Regions from separate parts of the Homo sapiens genome. Here regions 1 and 3 are each linked to region 2. The links are contacts of gene promoters, found by promoter capture Hi-C in blood cells and fetal thymus (Javierre and others, 2016). All regions are on one chromosome and are shown on one strand. Each heading gives the region's core, a stretch centred on a gene start or on the middle of the fragment in contact. The rest is flanking DNA. Distances are from core to core; before and after follow the strand shown. Region 1 overlaps DLX1 (distal-less homeobox 1). Region 2 holds the start of HOXD13 (homeobox D13). Region 3 overlaps METAP1D (methionyl aminopeptidase type 1D, mitochondrial).

Region 1 (2,915 bases), core at 181-2,680, 4.0 Mb before region 2:
GAGGTACAAGGGAGAGAGGGAAAGAAGGAGCGGGGGAGAAGAGGAGAGGGAGAGAGAGAGAAAGAGAAGAGAGGAGAGCGAGGTGGGGTGGGGGTGGGGAGGGCGCGGGAGCAGTGGAGGTTTCGAATATCAATCTATAGATCCTTGTCACAGCAAATAAATTTTTTTAAAAATTCCCTCAATTTGCAACTATCCAGCCAAGGATAAATCCCAGAGCGTCTCCTGGCACTGGCTGGGCCTCTGGGCGGCTCGGTGTGCAGAGCACACAATGCCCCGCTGGAAAACAGAAACCCACATGTGCACGTATTAGTCTCGGTAATTATTTATTGCGTAGCGCTATAAACAATGTATGCAATTAAGGGTAATTAAACCTCAACTACCGCCTGCAAAAATAGCAAACTTTCCCTGCAAAGGCAGGAGCTGAGCTCCTGGGAACGGCTCTATCCCTCCTGCAGCGTCCCGGGACAGGCCCTCGGATTTTGGGGGACCCTTCCCTGGCTTTCAGAGTTTCTTGAACGTTCTCTCCCTGGTGCTGCCTCCGCCACCCTTCGGTAGCCACTCGCTCTCGGCTGTTCGCACTAAAGGCGGCCCCTCGTATTAACAACGGGCCCTACTTCTGCTGTCCCTCCAGGGGCGGACTCGGAGAAGAGCACGGTGGTGGAAGGCGGTGAAGTGCGCTTCAATGGCAAGGGAAAAAAGATCCGTAAACCCAGGACGATTTATTCCAGTTTGCAGTTGCAGGCTTTGAACCGGAGGTTCCAGCAAACTCAGTACCTAGCTCTGCCGGAGAGGGCGGAGCTCGCGGCCTCTTTGGGACTCACACAGACTCAGGTACCTCGCCGCTGCCGCTCCGTTCTGCCACGCAGGCTTTCCGCGGCCGGCCTGCGCCCGGGTCTTCATTTGTTGCTCGCTGGGACTCAGGGTCGGGGTGTCACTGTGTGTATGTGTTTGTGTCCACCCCTGGCTCTCAGCGTGTCTCCTTCCTCCCTCATTCCCTCTGCCCTAGCTCTGTCACTGCTCTCGGTATCCCGAGCTGCCTGCCGTCCGGCCCTCTGTCCCTGGACAATCTGATTAGGGCGCAGGAAGGATTTCCCCAGACGATTTGTTTGGGAACTCAGAGGTCACACGTGCCTAAACAACTGGAACAATAGACTCCGGGCTTAATCCCTCCTTTGCCTTTAAATTGTGTGACTAATCACTCGGGGCCTGGGTCCGCGCCTCAGCCTCCCTCCTCCTCCTCCTTCTTACCGGTTGGGGGTGGGGGGAGATCCTTTCCTCCGCCCTCTCACCTCTCAAGTCCCAGACCTTAGAGAAGAAACGGGACCTTCCTTCCCGGCTTTCTGTAAGACTCCGGGGAGCCCGTGAGCGTTCCTGACGGCGGCGGGCGCGGGTTTCCGACGTCCGGTCCGGGATTTGGAGCAGAGCTGGAGAAAGCAAACAGACACTAGTGCAAGAATGGTTTTGAATCCAAAGAGAAGTTCAGCAAAACCTTGAGGCCTCCTTAGTCCGTCCCAACTCAAGGGCAGAAAAGATGGCGCATAGAAAAGTTGGGTCGCGTTGCAAATAAATTTCCTCCACTCCTTCCTAGGTTTTCGATTCTTTTTATTGATGTTGATATTGGAATTGCTGGCTCGGTGTTATGCAGGCGCTGTATCTTCCGCAGGCGGTAGCCACGGTCGGACTGAGCCCCTGGCAGGCTAAGGCCTGGATCCCGGTTCTCCCCTCATCACAACTCCTCCCTGGCTCTCTGAGAGCTGCCCCCGTGGGCTGACGGCGGCGGGAGGTTCGGCCTTCGAGCCTTTGGCTCTTATGGGGGAAGGGAGGAAGGAGGGATGTCTCTGCTTCTCTGGCAGGGAGCTGCCAGCTGGCGCAGGGTTGGGAGGTCCTATCTCTGCTGTTCTGCGGTCCCTTTTTTCCTCCCTGTGACCTAGGTAGGCTCAGTGGTCCCAGCCTGAGTCACGTTGTTGTCCGCTCTTGCAGGTCAAGATCTGGTTCCAAAACAAGCGATCCAAGTTCAAGAAGCTGATGAAGCAGGGTGGGGCGGCTCTGGAGGGTAGTGCGTTGGCCAACGGTCGGGCCCTGTCTGCTGGCTCCCCACCCGTGCCGCCCGGCTGGAACCCTAACTCTTCATCCGGGAAGGGCTCAGGAGGAAACGCGGGCTCCTATATCCCCAGCTACACATCGTGGTACCCTTCAGCGCACCAAGAAGCTATGCAGCAACCCCAACTTATGTGAGGTTGCCCGCCCGTCTCCTTCTTGTCTCCCCGGCCCAGGTCCCTCCCGCCTCCAGGTCCATCCATCCCGTCCGGAAAAGAAGGACCCAGAGGGAAGAAGGAACAGTGGAGGCGGGACGCCCTCCATCTCCTCGGAGCCCCGCGAGGTCCGGCCCAGCAACTTCCCGGCATCCGCGCTCTAGCCTGAACCCTGGCCTGGGCCGAGCAGTGGCAGCAGAGAGTGGCCTCGGAGGGAAGCCACTGCCACCTGAGACAGCCCAAGCAGCAAGATAAACCCGCTCCACCCGACCCGCCGACCTTCAGCTTTGTGGGACTATCAGGAAAAAACAAAACAAAAACAAAATGTAGAAAAAGCAAAAGCTCTTTTCTGTCCTGTCAGTCTCCTGTCTCCTTTTGCTCTGTCTGTGCGCTGGTAAAGTCCAGGTCCTCATCCGTCCGCTGTCCTCATTCTGCGGCCTCAGCAAAAAGCCACAAGGTCTGAGCGGCCCGGGTCCTGCCGGGCTGACCATCTCCGGATCCTGGGACACTCTGCCTGACCATCTGTGTAGCTGGTGTGGGAATCTGGGGGCATTGGAGGGAGGGGGTTTTATTTATTGAGAAATGGACTTCGCCTGAGGCTGTTTGCCAATTCAGGGTTCTGCTGGGCGCAAGGAACGCACTGTTCAAACGCACTGTTTACTT
Region 2 (2,736 bases), core at 32-2,531:
TGCCCCATTAGTTGCTGAGATTGAGGGATGGTGGGCTGGAGCTCTGAGGCTGAGGAGCAACAGAAAGGGATGATGAGGGACAGGGCTGTAATCCCTAACACCCTGGCAGCTTGGTTCCAGAGCTGGACCTAGCCCCACCAGCACTGCCCTGAGCCCACCTAACCCCTTGAAGTCAGACCGTTTCTCTGGGCTGCTCCTATCACAAAATCCGAATTTGCTTGGAACAAGCGCCCTCTTAATTTGCCCCTCTCAGTTCTCTGCAGTTGACAGCTTGGAAAAGGAAGCGAAACAAAGGTCCCTGGGAAAGTGAAGTTTTCAATTAATTTGGTGTGAGAAACGGGCGGGAGTGGGTGGTGACTGCAAAATGCGAGGCCGGTCGGCTGCTGGAGAGACACAGAAGTTTCACGGTGGGAGGCTGAGTGGCTTTCTCCCCCGGCGCCGTTCTCAGGGTCTTTCTGCGGGTCGAAGAAGGACCCGCGGGAGCTGAGAGGCCCAGGTCGGAAGCACTCCCGGCTGGCCCAAGAGTAGAGGCGAAGAGCGTTGAGTAGGCATCCATGGACTTTTCTTTCTGGGACAGATTGTCAGGCTCACTGCGCCGATGCCTGTCTTTCATCTGTTTAAGTCTCTGCCGCCAGCCCCAAGGGCGCTTCATGGGCATTTTCCGAACGGACAGCGTGTGTGTATAGGAAGGGTCTGCTCCAATGCCTCTTACCTGTGTGAAATGCCTTTGCCGGGTACCAGTGCACAAGGTAGGGCAAATTAGCTCACTCGGATTTGGGGTCTAGAAGTCGACTAACTGAGGGATTCAGCAACAGGATAAAAAAATGGGCCTGTTTTCACATCATTCTGATCATCTCTGTCCTTCGTCTTCATTTTGCTGTGCAACTCGGGGAGCCGAGGAGAGGTGGCAAAAACAGCGGTTGCCGAGACAAGGCGCAGGCCTTGGCGCCCGCCTCAGTCGCAGACAGGGCCTGGGATGGGCCGTCGCGCAATCAACTCGTGGGGGTGGCTGCAGCGCGTACGCCTGGGTCGGGGGGGAGGGCGGGAATGGGAGGTGGACCCTGCAAGGGGCAGGAGAGGGGTGGGGGCCGGAGTGGGTGGGTCCAGCCAGGCCTGGGCCGGGAGCCAGGCTCCCCCGCGTTCCTACCCCCACGTGGCCGCGCGCAGCCAATGGCACGCCCCCGGCGGGGGCCCTCGGGGCGGGAGGCGGCCCCCCGACCGGCCCAGGCCCCCTCCCAACCTGAACTTCGTTTTTATAAACGTCCCGCGATGAGCTAACCTGTTGGAGGGCAGGCGGGCCGGAGGCGGGAGGCTCACAGAGGGAGAGAGGGCTAGAGGAAGAGGGCGGGAGCGAGCGAACCAGAGAGAAAGGAGAGGAGGGAGGAGGCGCGCCGCGCCATGGTGTCCTGCGCGGGGCCAGGGCCAGGGCCGGGGCCGGGCCAGGCCGGGCCATGAGCCGCGCCGGGAGCTGGGACATGGACGGGCTGCGGGCAGACGGCGGGGGCGCCGGTGGCGCCCCGGCCTCTTCCTCCTCCTCATCGGTGGCGGCGGCGGCGGCGTCAGGCCAGTGCCGCGGCTTTCTCTCCGCGCCTGTGTTCGCCGGGACGCATTCGGGGCGGGCGGCGGCGGCGGCAGCGGCGGCTGCGGCGGCGGCGGCGGCAGCCTCCGGCTTTGCGTACCCCGGGACCTCTGAGCGCACGGGCTCTTCCTCGTCGTCGTCCTCTTCTGCCGTTGTAGCGGCGCGCCCGGAGGCTCCCCCAGCCAAAGAGTGCCCAGCACCCACGCCTGCAGCGGCCGCTGCAGCGCCCCCGAGCGCTCCAGCGCTGGGCTACGGCTACCACTTCGGCAACGGCTACTACAGCTGCCGTATGTCGCACGGCGTGGGCTTACAGCAGAATGCGCTCAAGTCATCGCCGCACGCCTCGCTGGGAGGCTTTCCCGTGGAGAAGTACATGGACGTGTCAGGCCTGGCGAGCAGCAGCGTACCGGCCAACGAGGTGCCAGCGCGAGCCAAGGAGGTATCCTTCTACCAGGGCTATACGAGCCCTTACCAGCACGTGCCCGGCTATATCGACATGGTGTCCACTTTCGGCTCCGGGGAGCCTCGGCACGAGGCCTACATCTCCATGGAGGGGTACCAGTCCTGGACGCTGGCTAACGGGTGGAACAGCCAGGTGTACTGCACCAAGGACCAGCCACAGGGGTCCCACTTTTGGAAATCTTCCTTTCCAGGTAGGGGCGATGGAGAAAAGGGACCGACACGAGGGAGGGGGAGAGAGAAGGAGAAAAGAAAGGACTAAGAGTATGCGCCCCTACTTGGGAGTGGGAGTTGTGCCTGTGCTCCACACGTGACCAGGGTTAACCCAGTGGAAATTTGTCCAGTTCGTGTGAAATCTGTAAATTCCTCCTCTGATTTCAACTGCCTCCGTCACTGCCCTTTCTTTCCTGTGTGCAGCGCAGACACGTTTTTCTCCTAAAGTTGAGAGTCTCTGCGTGCCCTTTCCTTGGGCCTCTCCCTTTTCTCCTAAAGAGAACTTTTTCCTAAGAAACCTGACAGAGTTGGGTCCCCCCATTTTCAAAGACATCACTGCCCCAAGATGACTACTAAAGCTTGTTAGATCAAGCTCACGAACTCCTAACATAGGAACGCGGGAAATCAAAATTTGAGCAAAAGACCTGAGTTGGTATGTGTCTATGTATGTAAGTTTGTTTTTATACAACCGACATTTGCAGAAA
Region 3 (2,700 bases), core at 195-2,694, 4.0 Mb before region 2:
TGCAAGGTAATTAAGATAATTTGATATAGTAGAGAAAACACTCGATTAGAAGCCAATAATCCATCATATTAACCTGAATCTACCTCTATATTCTGCCACCAACCTTAAACAAGTTACTTATCTGTGCCTCAGTTTCCTGAATTATAAACTGAAGATCTAATAAAGACCTTTCTTGCTTCCTTCACAGAATATGAGAGCATTTTTTAAGAAATGCAGAGTAGTATACAGATTTAAGACATTAATTCAGTATCACAACAGACTGAAAGCTCATATAAACATCTTTTTTATAACAGTTTCTACATTCTACCTTATGAGCAAGAGAAATGTGAAAAATAATTAGATAGGACAAATTTATGCAAAGTAGCAAATTCCATGCTACATCAAAGGATCAGTATCCAAACAGTTGCCTCTGCCTTTTATATTTACTATAGTGCTTGGTTATCAATGATTTATAATGAATCTGGTATCTTTCAAGATCCTACTTGGCTTCTGAATCACTGAAGACTGATAAAATTATACTTTCTGTAATTGTGCTTTTAAGCTTGTTTTATTATATTCTAATTCTTTAGATATCCATATATAGTGCTTTCTGTTAACGTTCGGCTGTCTGGAACATTTGATTAAGATTTCACTTCTAGACATAGGATTTTTCTGTAACACATTTCATTCCTATATGGAACCACTTCAATTCTTAGAACTGAATTCTCCTATTTGTTTGTTAGAATACAGACATGTCTATCTTACTTCTTCTTGTCATTATATATCACTTCAAATGTAGAACTGGTAAATACAAAATCAAGTAAGTCTTCATGACATTGAAGAAACTTTTCACTATGTTAAATACTTTTTGGTTCTCTAAACCTGTTGTGGTAATTGTAGATCAAGGTCTTTGGCTACTAATTTTTGCTTATATAATTTTGTCTTCTCAGAAATAAAGTGAGGAATCAAAATATTACAGTAGTATTGTTCATCATAATGCTGAAATAACCATACTAGTTAACATAGTTGTTTTTAAATTTTGCAATATCATTGCATGGCTTCATCTTTTAAATTTCTGCAAGGTTTCAATATATCTATTTCTTCTTTTTTTGATAGGCAAATGAATAATTCTGGAAGGGTAAAACATGAGTCTACTAAATACATAAATGAATACAATGTATACTTTAGGAAAGTAGATTTTTAAACAAGGACATATTTTTAAATTTCTGCTTATGTTTAGGTCTATTACAATGGCTACCATGGAGACACCTCTGAAACATTTTTGGTGGGCAATGTGGACGAATGTGGTAAAAAGTTAGTGGAGGTTGCCAGGAGGTGTAGAGATGAAGCAATTGCAGCTTGCAGAGCAGGGGCTCCCTTCTCTGTAATTGGAAACACAATCAGGTAAGCCTTACATTGACAAGTAAAGGGAGGGTTGGCAAATGGTACAAAGGTTATTGGTGGCTTGGTATAAAGTTGATGACATGTTTTATGATTCAGAACCATCATTTCAGTCTGATATCAGTATGTGAACTGCCAGGCTGCAATATTGTTCCCTGAGTTGAAAAAAAAAAAAGATTTTATAAAAATGAATTATACCAGGGTCAGCAAAGAAACTTATAGAAGGAGCAAGCAATATTTACATGGCTGCTTTTGTTTTAGCTTGACATACTGGTCTATAGTTTCCCTTTATTCAAAATCACACCAAATATGGAAGGGAGTACCTAAGAAGGGGATGAGCATCTCAACCCTGGGGTTTTTAATAAGACAGGAGAAAAACTAAATTTTATAAAGGAATGAAGTGAAATGTATTTCTGTGATATGAAGATAATAAAGTGTTAGTTCAAGCAAGCCTTACCTTTCAAATTGGTAGATTAACAAATAGCCTGAAACGGTGATCTTCTGTTCTTTTTTTGTCTGGTTCATTTTTCCTGTAAACCGTTGTTTATTTTTCACAGAGTATTCTATCCTTACTTTTTGAATGTATGTGTATGTGTGTTTTCTGAATTTAAGACTTTTCTTTATAATCTGTTACCTACTTTTAGGTCTTTTTTCCCCCATAACTGTTTTGAAGTAGACATGCCGAATATATGTTTTCATTTTAAAGTAATGCATTCTGTTAAAGATGATCACATCAGTGCCCTTTAAAGTACTGTTCTCATTAATATGAACCATTGAATACTTCCCATTTGTCTAAAGGATGGAAGGCTTAGTCACCTTGAAAAGATGCTGCCTTTTTTTCTTCGTAAGCCTTCAAATACTTTAAGAAAAAAGCCAGTAAAATATCAGTTAAATGTATTTATGGCTTTAAAAATATTGTAACAGTGTCTGAATCAAACTTTAGTAAAATCTCTTTGGGTTATATCTGAGAAGCTTTTATTGAAGACTTTGAACAAAATTGTGTTTTTGACAGTTTTAAATTATAGGCTAACTAGCCTGGGAAAAAAGGATAGTGTCTCTCTGTTCTTTCATAGGAAATGTTGAATCAGACCCCTACTGGGAAAAGAAATTTAATGCATATCTCACTATCTTACTGTCCATGAATATAATAGAAATGAATTCAAAATGCAGTTTTATTTTTGCAAATGGGATGAGTCGATAGATGCACCTCATATTTTTGAACACCTAGGGTTCAACAAATTTACTGGTGGTGCTCTTGCATTTTAACAAAATTTATTCTTCAGTAGAAGGGGGCAGAGAACACTAGATTCTTATTCAAGC

What was found. The method cuts DNA at HindIII sites, captures the fragments that hold promoters and counts their contacts. A CHiCAGO score of 5 or more calls a contact.
Region 1: a fragment that was not itself captured here is called in contact with the fragment with the promoter of HOXD13 in region 2 in 6 of 17 cell types (total B cells, naive B cells, total CD4 T cells and 3 more); the score reaches 31.5 in total B cells.
Region 3: a fragment that was not itself captured here is called in contact with the fragment with the promoter of HOXD13 in region 2 in 2 of 17 cell types (naive B cells and total B cells); the score reaches 6.3 in naive B cells.

Annotation. Positions count from the first base shown.
Region 1 is chr2:172,086,023-172,088,937 of GRCh38, forward strand. It overlaps DLX1 (distal-less homeobox 1), which reads left to right. Exons shown (of 3, transcript NM_178120.5): 2 at 632-831; 3 at 1,981-2,915. The coding sequence ends at 2,235. Among named protein-coding and RNA genes, the nearest start is that of DLX1, 2.0 kb to the left of the region's middle. RefSeq lists enhancers at 1-356, 971-1,582, 2,196-2,807. The HindIII fragment of the contact is 3,945 bases long and covers 1-2,915 here.
Region 2 is chr2:176,091,440-176,094,175 of GRCh38, forward strand. HOXD13 (homeobox D13) reads left to right here and starts at 1,282. Exons shown (of 2, transcript NM_000523.4): 1 at 1,282-2,232. The coding sequence starts at 1,452. The HindIII fragment of the contact is 2,791 bases long and covers 1-2,608 here.
Region 3 is chr2:172,069,688-172,072,387 of GRCh38, forward strand. It overlaps METAP1D (methionyl aminopeptidase type 1D, mitochondrial), which reads left to right. Exons shown (of 10, transcript NM_199227.3): 6 at 1,220-1,383. Among named protein-coding and RNA genes, the nearest start is that of DLX1, 14 kb to the right of the region's middle. RefSeq lists an enhancer at 2,104-2,700. The HindIII fragment of the contact is 1,811 bases long and covers 540-2,350 here.